Regions from separate parts of the Homo sapiens genome. Here region 2 is linked to region 1. Evidence: promoter capture Hi-C in 16 types of primary human blood cells and fetal thymus (Javierre and others, 2016). All regions are on one chromosome and are shown on one strand. The core of a region is centred on a gene start or on the middle of the fragment in contact, and the rest is flanking DNA. Distances in the headings are between cores, read along the strand shown.

Region 1 (4,610 bases), core at 269-2,768:
GCTTGGCTTCCACTCCGGAGGCCGAGCCAGGACGAGGTTTCGGTGCAAGTCGCTGCACCAGTCCTAGACTGGGTCTGTCCGGGTCTCCCGAGCCGACCGGGTGCTCTCAAGGGTTCCTAATCATTCCCACCTCTAGCAGGGTGTGGGAAAGTGGGTGCCTCCTCCTGACATCCCGGCTTCCCACCAGACCCTACGACCGGCCCCTGTGTTCCGAAGCAGCTAGCTCGGTCTCCACGCGCCCTGGAGAGGGCGGGGACGCGGGCATCCACTCCAGAGTCCGAGTCGAGGTCTCCACCAAACCCCGGCAGCGCGCACTTTGCGCCTCTTGCAAAGTTTCCGCGCGAGGTTAAGCCAAGGTGGAGCGGGACGCGGGCTCTTACCGTAGACTCCTTGTCCCCGGCAGTGGAAGGGGATCAGCGCCAGAAGTAGAAGGCAGGTCACCTCCATCTTCACGGCCGGTGCTTCATCCCCGCGAGGCGGCGCAGCCCGAGAGGCGGCGGGGGGCGCATTCGCCGGGGCCCCGCGACGCCCCTATGTCCCCCCCTTTCCCTGAGAGGTGAGAGAGAGAGCGGCGACGAAGACCAGGAGACTGAAGAGGCGGAGGTGGCGGCGACCCGTGTTTCTCCTCCGGCGGGGCCGCTGCCCGCGTGGGGACGCAGGGGGCGCTGGCCCAGCCCCGGGTGCCTCGGCGCGCCCGGCACAGCAGCCAGCGCCCCGACCCGAGGAGCCCGGCCGCCGAGCCGCCCCGGGTACCCAGGGCCGTCCGCGCGGGATGCTAGGCGCCGGGGACCTCTCGGCGGCGGAGGCGGCGCTTCGATCCAACAGGCCACGGACGACTGACAAACTTGTCGTTTCCCCGCACTGGGGCCGCCCCTCAGCGGAGCGGAGTCGGGGAGGCCGGGGCTCCGCTCGAGTTAATCAATCTGCTGTTTCCAGTCCTGCGGCCGCTGCCGTGGGCTCAGCGGCCCGACTCCAGGGGGCCGGGCTGAAAGCACTCGCGGCGGCGAAGCAGCCCCGGGCCCGGCCCTCCTGATCCGGGGAGCAGCGCGGGCTGGGTTCGGCCGAGGGACGAGCGCCGCGGGTCCCCGGGTCCGTGAAGTTAGCCGAGCCGCCGATAAACCCGGGGGAAGAATAGCAGCCCGGCGCCCCGCGGGAATCTGGAGAGCAATTCCAGGCAAGAAGGGCCCCAGAAAACGGGGAAAGGAGGAAAGTTTGAGTCTTTTGAAAAATATTCGCGCTCTCGCCCAGGCCGGGGCTGCGGCGCGGGCGCCGCTCGCCGCCTCCGCTCGCCGCGCTCCTCTCCCGCCGTCTGGCCGCGGCCGTAGCCCTCCCGGGCTCCGAGCTCTCGGGAGAGCGGGGCTACGCCGCGCCCCAAGTTGGTCGTCCCCGCCCCCGCCCGGCGGCCTTGGCCTGCGGGGGCCCAGAGCGGGCGGGGCCGGGCCGGGCTCCGGGGCGCGGCGGCCGCTCGGCTCCGGGCCGCGGGAGCGCTCCGCTCGCTCAGCAACTTGGGCTTTGCTGTGCTGCTTTTTCGCCCCTCCGAGCTTTTCATTCCGCGCTCCTCCCGCCTCCCTCCCTCTCTTCCTCCTCCCTCCTCCTCGCGTCTCCTCGTTCGGTCTCTCGCTCTCCCACCCGTTGTCGCTCGCTCTCCTGTTTGATTCCCCTCCAGTTAAAAAAAGGAGCCAATTAAAGGCAGCCCAGCTCGCCTGGCCCAGCCTCTGTCCAATTTCCTCGCCTCCCCCAGGACCAATTAGAGAAAACAAAACAGGGCTGGGGGAAGCTGACTGCCTGCCTTTCTCTTTCTCTTTCTCTTTCTCTTTCTCTCTCTCTCTCTCTCTCTCTCTCTCTCTCTCTCTCTCTCTCTCTCTCTTTCTCTCTCTCTCCTCTCTCTCTCTTCTCTCTCTCCTCTCTCTCTCCCTCTCGCTCTCTCTCCCTTCCTCTCCTCTCCTCTCTTTCCCTTTCTCCTCTCCCTCTCTCTCTCTTCCTCTCTCCGCCCCCTAACATTCCCCCCCAACCCCGCCCAGCAGGAAAATGTCAGAAAGCAGAAATGGATCCATCTATCCCGAGGACAGTGGCGGAGGGACCTGGGTTTCGGCGGGGGCTCTGCAGCCGCGCGCTCGCACACTCGCTGTTCTCCAGCCTTGCACACCCAGACTAGCTGGCCGAGCCGGGTGCACCGTTGCCAGCAGCCCGCGGGGCAAACACGGCCGCTCGCTTCGGAGACCCATGCCCGCAGGGCACTGCACACTTCGTAAATGTTTTGCACTTTGGGGAGGCGGGACTGAAGCGGGGGTCCTAGGGAAAGGCCGGGCGCCTGCGGTTCCTGGGGTCCTGCAGCCGCGCGAGACGGGCCGCGGCTGTGGGTCTGCAAGGCTGTCTGCCCGGCTCGAGAGGCCCCCGCCCCTTTCCAGGCGTCTGGTGCTGGGGCCGGGCCGGAGCAGCTGGCGGAGAGGTCGCGCTGAGAGCTCCTGCCCTTGCCGCGGCCCACAGGTTGCCAACAGGTTTGCTCGCACGACCCCTCCGCCAGAGCTTCCCTAAGTCACCCCACATTTTCCTCGGCTAGCCACTCTTCCCATCTTGCCTCCCCTCGGGACCTCAGGCGCCCCCAAGCGCCCCGGGGGCACACCTCCTTCCGGCTGCCGAACCCGAGCCCCGCTCCAGCGGCGGGAGTCCGGCACTCGGGTCTCAGCCGCCTCGAAGGGGCCCTCGCGGAGCAGGAGTGCGGAGAACGCTCCTCCCAAACGCCCGCGGGGAGGGGCGTAGGCTGGCAAGCGAGGCTGGTGGCCTCCCCCGCGCCTCCGATCCCGCCCCGCGCCCAACCCGGGTCCTGCTAATCTCACCTGCTCCACCTGTCGCCGTTATTTATCTCAGCGTGTGCGCAAGAATTGTTTTAGGTCGGCCCGTGGGAGCGCAGACAATCGCAGCAGCTAACAAGCGGGGAGACTACGAACCCCCCCTCCCTTCGCCCCCTGGAACTGCTCAATATCTTGATGGTGGTTCCACGGCTCTATGCATTTGTCAAAACTCAAAGATCTCCACACTCCAAAAAGGTTAGTCTGCATATAAATTGAAACATAAATTTTTTTAAAATAATAATAATGAACCGTCCCTTCCCCAGGCCCATTTCCTGCTGGGTCTCTCCTCCCTTGACTCTCCAGGGCTTAAGCCCCACCGGAGCGCGCGCTCCTGACTGCTGGAAGAGGAGCGGGAGGTGTCGGGAAGTGCCTGGTGGCATGGGGGGGTTCCACCTTCCTTTCTCAGCCCCCTTTCTGTCCATCTCAGGAAGCCCGAGAACATCCGAAGATTCCTATTCTCTAGCCCACCTCCACTCGTTTGCGCCTCCCTTGTGCCCTCTTCCGTCTTTTCTCTCCTTTCTACCCCGTGGGTCCAAGGCTGATAGGAAGTCCAGACTCAGTGCGGTGCTCCCAGCAGATGCCAGCTGCAGACATGTTCAGTGAATTCACGAATGATGCCCATCATGGCCAGATATCACAGACCTGGGATACCCTCAGGGTAGCCATCCTTTCACTCCCCAGCCCCGGACTGTTACCTCAAAGGCAAAAAATTCATTTTCTGTCCCACAGAGATACACAGCCACCATGCCTCTTCCCGCCTCCCCCATCCAGTCAGAAAAGGAAGTGGTGCCAATTGAGGGAGTGATGAGGGATAGCTTCTTCTATTGTCATCCTCTTCCCATTATTAGAGGGTTCCTGGAAGTCTCTACCCCTTCCAGGAAGCTCTCAGGGAGTGATCACAGCGACTGTGGCTCTTCCTGGCTTTGCCCATTCTGAGCTGAATGTGTACTTCTCCATGTCGTGCGAAACTGCGCTCTGATTTTCCAATTAGCTGTTCCAACACCAAACAGCAGTCAATTGCTCCTCTTTGGCTTTGGGGTGAGTTACTGGGGACAGAGAACTGCACTGACTCAGCTGACATTCTCTTGACTTTGCCCTCTCTAAACTCACACACTAGCCTGGAGGAGAAAGAAGGTTCATGATGGCGGGGTGGGGGGAACAGAGGACCAAGTTAGCCAGGCTGGGATTGAACATTTGCTGTAGCTAATCCACTTGTGAATACTCTGCAGCTAATTGTATGCAGTGTAAATACCTTGACAGCCTGTTTGTGTGTGTCTGTAAATTCAGCTGTCTCCTCCCCCAAGTGTGCCCTGCCTGCTGCCTCAACACAGCCCAGTGTCTGACAATGGGAGGCAACCTCAGAGAAGGGAAAGAGCCCTAGACATCAGTCCTGCGTCCCAGTCCTAACCTCTCTAGGCCTCAGTTTCCCCAGATGTAAACTAGGTAAGATCCCTGTCTTCCTAGAGAGAAGTGGAGTAATAAGAATAACAGCTGACACCACATGCCAGGCACTGTATTAACTATTTAATCTTCATAACCATTATGTAAGACAGGGCTGTTATTCTCATGGAATGACATAGGAAGATGTAGTGACTCACTCAGCTGCTAAGGGGCCAAACTGAGCTTTGACCTCAGTAGCTTGGCTCGGCGACCTTGCCCTCTCCCACTGTTCTATACTGAAGAGGGGCAAGGGCCTAGGTATCAAATAATGTTTCCACAAGAACTGTTTCCTGTTCCCTTTACAGACACAGAGAACAA
Region 2 (4,139 bases), core at 1,113-3,612, 310 kb before region 1:
GACGTTTTGCTGTACCAGTCACTAGATGGTGCTGTTGTCAAGACACTTCAGTTGCTGTCCAGGTGTTGAAAAAACCTTGAGTTAAGTATACAGTGAGTTATAAATAGGATAGTAGGGCCAGGAATCTGATGCTGACTTGCAAGCACCTGTGGTTTGAAACTGGCCCTCTGCTGGTCAGCCAGAATGGAGGCAGCAGGCTTGTCACAGAGGCTGAGCAGGACGTGTGTCTGAGCCTCTTATGCCCAAGGAAGACATTCTGACCTGTGGGAGGGCAGAGTAGACTTTGAAAGCTGGTTCTTTGGAACTGAAGTTTTACCACTTTACTAACAGCTGTATGCTACTGGGTTTTGTGCCTAAATTTAAGCCCCCACAGATTTTCACTTCCAAGAGCTACTTGATCTGACAGAATCCCATTGTTCTTCCTTTTCACCTCCCATCACTCCATAAGCATTTACAGGAATACTACACTAGGCATCAGGAGAAAAAGTTAAATAAGACATTATCTCAGCCCTTACGGCACAAACAGTCTGGCGGAGGAGATAGAAAGGCAAGTAGATAGTGTGATGAGTTCCTTATCAGGGTGCTATGAAACTTCAAAGGAAGGGACACACCTGATTTGGCCTGGGGAGGTGCAGGTATGGGAAAAAGCTTCATCAAGGAAATGACATTTGAATGAGCCTTAAAGGTTCCCTAGGAGGTTAGCTTTCTAAGGAGAGGCAGTAGCACAAGCAAAACACAGAGGCATGAGAAGCAGTGACCTGTCCTGCCCCAGTTCCCAGTGTGGCCCACACAAGACATAATATTCACATGATGTCAAGGCTTAGAAAGTATCTACGGAGGCTTTGTGAATTTTTTTTTCTTCCCTCTTTCCCTTTTTGAGAGGAGCAGTGATCTGGGAATCCAGATTTGGCCAAGATCAGCTGAGTCGGGGGACGGGGTTGGGGGGTGGACCTAGGGACACCCATGGGCTTTCTTCGCCCAGTCTACCACCTAAGTTCCTTCCCTGCAATCTAAGCATGGCAAATGGCTTCACAAAACATCAGGGAAAGAAAAGGCTGGGCACGGTGGCTCATGCCTGTAATCCCAGCACTTTGGGAGGCCAAGATGGGCAGATCACGAAGTCAGGAGTTCGAGACCAGCCTGGCCAACATGGTGAAAGCCCGTCTCTACTAAAAATACAAAAATTAGCCGGGCGTGGTGGCGCACACCAGTAGTCGCAGCTACTCAGGAGGCTGAGGCAAGAGAATCGTTTGAACCTGCAGAGGTTGCAGTGAGCCAAGATCGCACCACTGCACTCCAGCCTGGATGACAGAGCGGGACTCTGTCTCAAAAAAAAAAAAAAAAGGAAAGAAGGGCCCTGGGCCCTGTGTCCTAAGTTTACGTCTGACTCCTATTACACAGAGTTAATTCTGCAGAGTAATAACAGATCCCCCTTTTCTCTCCAAAGGCTAAAGAGGGTGTCTCTCACTTTTTTGGTAACACTAGGGGGCTACACAGTAAAATGAGTTAGCTTCCCTGTTACATGCATTGGCTGGGAGCACTTCTGGCACCCATCTTGGTTTCTGTAGTTATCACACTGAATGCAGCTTTGAAGTTTTCTCTAGAGACAGACAGGTTTTCTGAGACCTGATTTAGGGAAAGACATGCCAGAGCTATCAACAGCTTCACTGGGTTTAGAGAAAATTCTCAGTTTAAATACCAACCTTCCTTCCATATTCCAAGGCCAATTGAAAGCTGGTTTAATCCCTGTTGCATGGGAATTTTTAAAAAGGACCAAATTTAGGATCTGGAAACTAGGATTGGCAAGCCTGTAATTGTCAGAGTCCCATCACTGCAGGCCCTGGAGCAGGAATTGCTCTTATAAATTCAGAGGAGACCTGCCTGCCTGTGGCCACAGGGTGTTGCCCATGCAGACATGCCTGTATTCTGATTTCACCAAGAACAGCCTCACTTCTAGGCCTCCTGGGCTGGTTATTGAAGTTTCATATGTTAGTGGGAGGAGTAGAGTCTCATGACTGATTAGCCATTGATCTCTTGTGTGAGACCAGAGGAGAGGAAGAGGATGGGAGTGTTAGGATGCTGGGTCCTGAGTTGGAGATGGATGCTCTGGAGCTAGGACAGATAACAGACATTCAGTAAGTCTTGTATCATGAGTCACTGTGGCTCTCTGGGATATTGACATGAGATTTTTTCTGAATGGAAAAGTTTTTTTGAAATCCCCTATAGAGTATCTCCCTCTGGAGCTGGTGAGGTGAGAGAGCAGTCTTCTGTCAGCTCCTCCCCTCCCGTTTCTTCTGTTCTCATTCGATGTTAGTTGGTTGACAAGAGTGTTAAAACTCTTCTGTTTTGCTTTTCCTAGCGGTTTCTTTGGGTTGTACTCAGAAAAAAAACAAGCAATGTAGAAATAAAATCTCCTTGGTCCTTTAGAACAGTGATTTTCAACCAAGGGGCTTTTTCAAACTACATTCCTTAGCTCCCTTGCTACTATTTTTTTTTTTTTTTTTTTGAGATGGTGTCTTGCTTTGTTGCCCAGGCTGAAAGGCTGAAGTTTAATGGCGCAATTTTGGCTCACTGCAACCTCCCCCTCCCGGGTTTAAGTGATTCTCCTCCCTCAGCCTCCTGGGTAGCTAGGATTACAGGTGCATGCCACCACGCCCAGCTCATGTTTGCATTTTTAGTAGAGACGGGGTTTTACTGTGTTGGCCAGGCTGGTCTCCCAACTCCTGACCTCAGGTGATGTACCCCGCTCCGCCCCCCAAAGTGCTGGGATTACAGGCATGAGCCACTGCGCCTGGCCCCTTGCTGCTGTAATAGTGAATTGTGGCTACTAGTGAGAGTGTGCCATGGCCTTCACGTGTGCTGAGGTGGGGAGAGGCATTTGTGAACTATTGTGTGAATCTGTGACACAAAGACCCCTCCAGAGGTTGGGGGTGTCTGGGGAGATGGATCCAGGTCAGACCACATGGCCTGTATCTCTTGCCAGCTTCTTATAGGCTAAGTAGAGGGTGGACCTAACACAGGGCAGGAGAAACTGGCAAAGCCCAGGCTCTGAAGAGTATCCATCAGCCCACCTGTAAGGCTTTCCCTGATATTGCCCATCCTCCTTTGCTGAAAGACAGCCTTTTAAAGGGATGTTTGAAGGAGTGGCAGCAGTAATCCTCTCTCTTCCAGAGAGAATACTTATTAGCAGGTAGTTGTAACCTACTCAGTCCTGTCCCTGGAGAATCAGGGTCATTTGCAGGAAGTTAGCATTTCTGCCTGCCTTGTATAAGACAGTGTTTGTCTAAGGGAAAATGGATCTTGGCAAGGTCAGGATGAGGCGGGAGTGTCCACATGCTTGTACTCAGATAGTATATAACACTGTATTCTTAAGATTTTTTTTTTTTGAGATGGCGTTTCGCTCTTGTTGCCCAGGCTGGAGTGCAATGGCGCGATCTCGGCTTACCACAACCTCCGCCTCCCGGGTTCAAGCAATTCTTCTGCCTCACCCTCCCAAGTAGCTGGGATTACAAGCATGTGCCATCATGCCCGGCTAATTTTGTATTTTTAGTAGAGATGGGGTTTCTCCATGTTGGTCAGGCTGGTCTTGAACTCCCGACCTCAGGTGATCCGCCCACCTCTGCCTCCCAAAGTGCTGGGATTACAGGCGTGAGCCACCGCGCCTGGCTCTTAAGATTTTTTTACTTTAAACAATGTATGCAGGGCGGGTGCTGTGGCTCACGGCTGTAATCCCAGCACTTTGGGAGGCTGAGGGGGCGTGGATCATGAGGTCAGGAGTTTGAGACCAGCCTGACCAACATGGTGAAACCCCATCTCTACTAAAAATACAAAAATTAGCCGGGCGTGGTGGTGCACACCTGTAATCCCAGCTACTCAGGAGGCTGAGGCAGGAGTATTGCTTGAACCTGGGAGGCTGAGGTTGCAGTGAGCCGAGATCATGCCACTGCACTCCAGCCTGGGCAGAGTGAGACTTCGTCTCAAAAAAACGAAAAAGAAGAAGAAAAGAAAAAGTATGCTTTGCAAAATTGTAATGGGATAGAACAAAATTGTAGTGGGATAGTAACATTATTGTTACTAGAAGCTTTTTAATTTCTCTATCACCACTTCCCTATTCATCTCCCTTCTTTTTTCCTTCTCTT

What was found. Contacts are between HindIII fragments. The CHiCAGO score rates a contact against its expected background, and 5 or more counts as called.
Region 2: a contact is called between a fragment that was not itself captured here and the fragment with the promoter of MDGA1 in region 1, in 6 of 17 cell types (total CD8 T cells, naive CD8 T cells, non-activated CD4 T cells and 3 more). The highest score is 6.7, in total CD8 T cells.

Annotation. Positions count from the first base shown.
Region 1 is chr6:37,696,365-37,700,974 of GRCh38, forward strand. It overlaps MDGA1 (MAM domain containing glycosylphosphatidylinositol anchor 1), which reads right to left and starts at 1,519. Exons shown (of 17, transcript NM_153487.4): 1 at 381-1,519. The coding sequence starts at 447. RefSeq lists enhancers at 1-142, 143-872 and silencers at 415-574, 605-894, 1,075-1,134, 1,195-1,324, 1,385-1,454 and 3 more. The HindIII fragment of the contact is 24,309 bases long and covers 1-4,610 here.
Region 2 is chr6:37,381,645-37,385,783 of GRCh38, forward strand. The region is part of intron 7 of RNF8 (ring finger protein 8); the gene reads left to right. Among named protein-coding and RNA genes, the nearest start is that of RNF8, 30 kb to the left of the region's middle. The HindIII fragment of the contact is 3,433 bases long and covers 647-4,079 here.